Linked DNA regions of Homo sapiens: region 2 is linked to region 1. Evidence: promoter capture Hi-C in human tissues and cell types (Jung and others, 2019). All regions are on one chromosome and are shown on one strand. The core of a region is centred on a gene start or on the middle of the fragment in contact, and the rest is flanking DNA. Distances in the headings are between cores, read along the strand shown.

Evidence for each region. The method cuts DNA at HindIII sites, captures the fragments that hold promoters and counts their contacts. A contact is called where the count stands out against the background at its distance.
Region 2: a contact is called between a fragment that was not itself captured here and the fragment with the promoter of MRPL4 in region 1, in 1 of the 25 tissues and cell types used here (hippocampus).

Annotation. Positions count from the first base shown.
Region 1 is chr19:10,250,716-10,253,648 of GRCh38, forward strand. MRPL4 (mitochondrial ribosomal protein L4) reads left to right here and starts at 1,499. Exons shown (of 9, transcript NM_015956.3): 1 at 1,499-1,595; 2 at 1,682-1,748; 3 at 1,836-1,986. The coding sequence starts at 1,539. RefSeq lists enhancers at 854-1,427, 882-1,031, 1,162-1,571, 1,428-2,001. The HindIII fragment of the contact is 13,002 bases long and covers 1-2,933 here.
Region 2 is chr19:10,015,065-10,017,997 of GRCh38, forward strand. It overlaps RDH8 (retinol dehydrogenase 8), which reads left to right. Exons shown (of 6, transcript NM_015725.4): 2 at 1,993-2,151. Among named protein-coding and RNA genes, the nearest start is that of RDH8, 3.0 kb to the left of the region's middle. RefSeq lists an enhancer at 2,698-2,933. The HindIII fragment of the contact is 3,864 bases long and covers 1-2,933 here.

The DNA of each region.
Region 1 (2,933 bases), core at 249-2,748:
CTCTCTACTAAAAATACAAAAAGTTAGCCAGGTGTGGTGGCGGGCGCCTGTAGTCCCAGCTACTCGGTAAGCTGAGGCAGGGAATCGCTTGAACCCGGGAGGCCGAGATGTGCGATCTCACACCACTGCACTCCGGCCTGGGCGACAGAGCGATACTCCATCTCAAAATACAAATACAAAATAAAAAAATACAATACAAAAATGAGCCGGGCTTGCGTACCTGTAGACCAGCTACTCAGGAGACAGAGGCAGGAGAATCCCTTGAGCTCTGGAGGTCGAGGCTGCAGTAAGCCATGATCTTGCCCATTGCACTCCAGCCTGGGCGACAGAGGAAGACCTTGTCTCTAAAAACCAAAACAAAGAAACTAAAAATAAGCATTCGGATTTGTTAGGGGGCGACAAGGGAGGCACTCCAGGATCTGTGGACTCCCCACTTTGTTCTGTCCTTGGAGAGCCCTGGAAGGTCTGAGAGGGGACGGGACCTGGTTTAAGGGGGTAGGGGAGAGGACCCTGGTCTAGGGGGTAAGGGACACAAATACCTAATCTGAGGGGTTTCGGGGGGACATGGCCCTGCCCTGGGGAATCTAAACTGGGAGGCATGGTCTGGCAGGCCCAATCCTGAAGGCTTTCTGAGGGCAATAAGGCCCTGCCTTTAAACAAATGAAAAAACGCCAGGCACGGTGGCTCACGCCTGTAATCCCAGCACTTTGGAAGGCTGAGGCGGGAGGATCACGAGGTCAGGAGATCGAGACCATCCTGGCTAACGCGGTGATACCCGTCTCTACTAAAAATACAAAAAATTAGCCAGGCGTGGTGGCGGGCGCCTGCAGTCCCAGCTACTCGGGAGGCTGAGGCAGGAGAATGGCGTGAACCCAGGAGGCGGAGCTTGCAGTGAGCCGAGATCGCGCCACTGCACTCCAGCCTGGGCAACAGAGCAAGACTCCGTCTCAAAAAAAACAAAAACAAAAACAAAAACAAAAACAAAAAAACAAATAAAAAAACAAAACCACATAACTGGATAAAGAAAAAACCATCTCCGACAGCCTTGGAGGCGGGATGAAGGCGTGGCCCGGTGGGCGTGACCAACAGCAAAAGTTTAAGCGTTATTGGCTGTATTCCTTAGTTGCTCACTCCAGAACTGCCCACTTATGGGCGGGGGTCACTCCTTCAGGCTTAACAGTCATTGGCTGAATTGGGCCAGAGAGGTCTCATTGGCTGAATTCCTGCACCGGCTCGTCGGAGGCGGGACCCAAAGTAGGCTAGGCCTACGGAAGCTGGGTCTTCTTGCTGTGAGGTCGCGTTCCCCAGTGTTACGGAGGGTCCTTGAGGCAGGAGTGAAAATTGGGTCTGGGGGTTAGTCCTGGGGTGGAGGTCTGGGCACGCCGGGTCGGACCCCCTCCATCTTCGGTTTTGCACACCCCGCTTTCCAGCGCGGAGTCGCGGCGGGTAGGGCGGCGTCGCGTGCGTGACGTCATCCAGCGGCGCCTCGCGAGGCTCCAGTGGCCTTGACCTCCCGCGGCGTGGGAGGCTGCGCGGCGATGCTGCAGTTCGTCCGGGCCGGGGCGCGGGCCTGGCTTCGGCCTACCGGCAGCCAGGTGAGGCCAGGGGCTGGAGGCGTGGTCGAAGGATGAAATTTGGGGGTGTCCAGGGGTCGTCTCTCACTTTCGCCCAACCCTTGCAGGGCCTGAGTTCCCTGGCGGAAGAGGCAGCGCGTGCGACCGAGAACCCGGAGCAGGTGGCGAGCGAGGGTAAGGCAACCGGGGTGGCTCCAGGAGGGGCGGCGACAGAGAGGTCTGACCCTTGACCCTAACCTCTGACCCCCGCAATCGCTCCAGGTCTCCCGGAGCCCGTGCTGCGCAAAGTCGAGCTCCCGGTACCCACTCATCGACGCCCAGTGCAGGCCTGGGTCGAGTCCTTGCGGGGCTTCGAGCAGGAGCGCGTGGGCCTGGCCGACCTGCACCCCGATGTTTTCGCCACCGCGCCCAGGTGAGCGAGGGCTGTAATGGTGAACTGAGTGGCAGAGGGATGAAGAGCGGGATTTCAGGAGTCACGATGACTTTGGGCTTGTACCCTTGGGAAAGTGCTGTATTTCTACAGCCTCCGTTTCTCCACCTGTCAAAGGGGAATGATGACAGTTTCCCCTGCTGTAGCGCTGTGTGAGATTGAAGCCTGAGAGGTGACATCATCTAAGGGTTAGGGAGACAGAATTCTGGAGCCCGACTGATTAGGTTCAAATCCTGCCTTCCCCTCTTGTCCCTCAGTGTCCCTATTTTGTCAGCGGTCGGGAGGTTGCTGTGATGAATAAATGACTTAATTCTGGCACATAATAAGTTCTATAGAAATGTTGATAATCTTTGTTAACTGGTTTTTGCAAATAAGAGCACTAAAAAGACTAAACCATTCCTCGGTGCCTGGAAGAGGCTGTTTGCATTTTAGTTACCCTGCTGTTCATAACATCTCTAAGAAAATGTAGGGGCCACCCTGGGCGCAGTGGCTCACGCCTGTAATCCCAGCACTTTGGGAGGCCAAGGCGGGCGGATCACGAGGTCAGGAGATCGAGACCATCCTGGCTAACATGGTGAAACCCCGTCTCTACTAAAAATACAAAAAAAAATTAGCCGGGCGTGGTGGCGGGCGTCTGTAGTCCCAGGTACTCTGGAGGCTGAGGCAAGAGAATGGCGTGAACCCGGGAGGCGGAGCTTGCAGTGAGCCGAGATCGCGCCACTGCACTCCATCCTGGGCAACACTCTGTCTCAAAAAAAAAAAAAAAAAAGAAAGAAAAGAAAATGTAGGGGCCAGTTACTGTGGCTCACATCTGTAATCCCAGCACATTGGGAGGCCGAGGTGGGCGGATCACTTGAAACCAGGAGTTGCAGACCAGCCTGGCCAACATGATGAAACCCCGTCTCTACCAAAAATACAAAAATTAGCCG
Region 2 (2,933 bases), core at 233-2,732, 240 kb before region 1:
ATGGGTGATTATGGGTGCACACATTGGGGGATATCAAACACGTATGCTGGTGCATGTGCAGACATAGTACATATGCTGAGGTCCTGCTTAAGAACATAAGCTTGAGGCTGGGCACAGTGGCTCATGCCTGTAATCTCAGCACTTTGGGAGGCCTAGGTGGACAGATCACCTGAGATCAGGAGTTTGAGACCAGCCTGGCCAACATGGTGAAACCCCGTCTCTACTAAAAATACAAAAAATTAGCCAGGCGTGGTGGTGGATGCCTGTAGTCCCAGCTATTCGGGAGGCTGAGGCAGAAGAATGGCGTGAACCTGTGGGGTGGAGCTTGCAGTGAGTCGAGATCATGCCACTGCACTCCAGCCTAAGCGACAGAGCATGACTCTGTCTCAATAAATAAATAAATAAATATACAAAAATTAGCCAGGCATGGTGGCAGTGCCTATAATCCCAGCTACTTGAGAGGCTAAGGCAGGAGAATTGCTTGAACCGGGAGACAGAGGTTGCAGTGAGCTGAGATTTCACCACTGTATTCCAGCCTGGGCACCAAGAGCGAGACTCCGTCTCAAAAAAAAAAAAAAGGGCATAAAAGCTTGGCCAGGTGCTGTGGCTCTCTGGCTCCTCACGCCTGTAATCCCAGCACTTTGGGAGGATGAGGTGGGCAGATCACCTGAGGTTCGAGACCAGGCTGACCAATATGGTGAAACCCCGTCTCTACTAAAAATACAAAAGATTAGCCAGGTGTGGTGGCAGGCACCTGTACCCCTGTAATCCCAGCTACTCGGGAGGCTGAGGCAGGGGAATTGCTTGAACCCAGGAGGTGGAGGTTGCAGTGAGCCGAGATTGCACCCCTGTACTCCAGACTGGGCAACAAACAAGAGTGAAACTTCGTCTCAAAAAAAAAATATATATATATATATGGCTATTCACTTCAGTGTTCATATATGCACATATGTTGGCTATAGTTGTGTATGCATTTTTTTCATGGCAATCTGTTTTATGTTTATATATTTTATTGTCTTACCTACTAGGCTATAAATTCCATGAAGGCAGAAACTTTATCTTATTTATTTATTTATTTATTTATTTATTTATTTATTTATTTTGAGACAGTCTCGCTCTGTTGCCAGGCTGGAGTGCAGTGGCGCTATCTCGGCTCACTGCAAGCTCCGCCTCCCGGGTTCACGCCATTCTCCTGCCTCAGCCTCCCAAGTAGCTGGGACTACAGGCGCCTGCCACCACGCCAGGCTAATTTTTTTTTTTTTTTGTATTTTTAGTAGAGACGGGGTTTCACCATGTTAGCCAGGATGGTCTCGATCTCCTGACCTCGTGATCTGCCCACCTCGGCCTCCCAAAGTGCTGGGATTACAGGCGTGAGCCACCGCGCCAGGCCGCCCGGCCTTATTTTTTATTTTTTGAGACAGGGTCTCACTCTCTCACCCAGACGGTAGTGCAGTGGCTCCATCTCGGCTCACTGCAGCCTCAACCTCCTGGGCTCAAGCAATCCTCCCACCACAGCCTCCCAAGTAGCCAGGACTACAGGTGGGGGCCACCCACCACACCTGGCAAATTTGTAAAATATAATTTTTTTGTAGAGATGGGATCTCGCTATACTTCCCAGGCTGGTCTCAAACTCCTGGGGTCAAGCAATCCTCCCACCTCAGCTTCCCAACGTGCTGGGATTACAGGCTTGAGCCACCACACCTGGTGACTTTATCTTATTTCATGCCATAGCCTCAGCACCTAGAATAGGGCATAGTGTATAGTAGATGCTCAATAAATGTCTGTTGAACTCATGGTTGGAAGGATGGATATAGGTACGTGGAGATGCGTGTACACAAGTGTGCACTTGTTGGCTGAGTGATAAATGTAGGTGTGTAAACTTGTGAGTTTCCATCTCTCTGTGACTTGTAACGCAAGATCACAGACACGTGGCGCCCACACCAAGGGGAAAGGAGCTCAGTGCCTGTCCCTGCTTTACTCTCTGCCCCGCAGTCGTGGCCACCATGAGGGACCTGGGGAAGAAGGAGACACTGGAGGCAGCTGCTGGGGAGGCTCTGGGGCAGACCCTCACCGTGGCCCAGCTGGACGTGTGCAGTGATGAGTCGGTGGCCCAGTGTCTCAGCTGTATCCAGGGAGAAGTGGACGTGCTGGGTGAGACTTCACAGCCCCTGATTCACTAAGCCCCATCCTGGTCTGAGTATAGACCCTCAATATGGCAAGGTCTGAGCACCAGCTCTCTGGCTTCTTCAGCAATCTCTGAACCTGGGCAGAAGGGGTAGACCAGTTGGCCAAGAGGGGTAGACCAGTTGGTCCTACCAATTGATTTATTAAGGGCTGGGTGCAGTGGCTCATACCTGTAATCCTAGCACTTTGGGAGGCCGAGACAGGAGGATTGACCAGCCTCAGCAAAATAGTGAGACTCTGACTCTACAAAAAAATTAAAAATTAGCCAGTCATAGTGGTGCATGCCTAATCCCAGCTACTCGGGAGGCCAAGGTGGGAGGATCCCTTGAGCCCAGGAGTTTGAGGCTGCAGTGAGTTATGACAGAGCCAGTCTGGGGAGACAGAGTAAGACCTTGTCTCAAAAATAATTTTTTTTTTGAGACGGAGTCTTGCTCTGCGCCCAGGCTGGAGTGCAGTGGCGTGATCTCGGCTCACTGCAACCTCCACCTCCCAGGTTCAAGCAATTCTCCTGCCTCGCCTCCTGAGTAGCTGGGATTACAGGTGCCTGCCACCATGCCCAGCTAATTTTTGTATTTTTCTTAGAGACGAGGTTTCACCGTGTTGGTCAGGCTGGTCTCAAACTCCTGACCTCAAGTGATCCGCCCACCTCGACCTCCCAGAGTGCTGGAATTACAGGCATGCACCACCACACCTGGCCAAAAATCAATTTTTTTTGAGATGGAATTTCACTCTTGTTGCCTAGGCTAGAG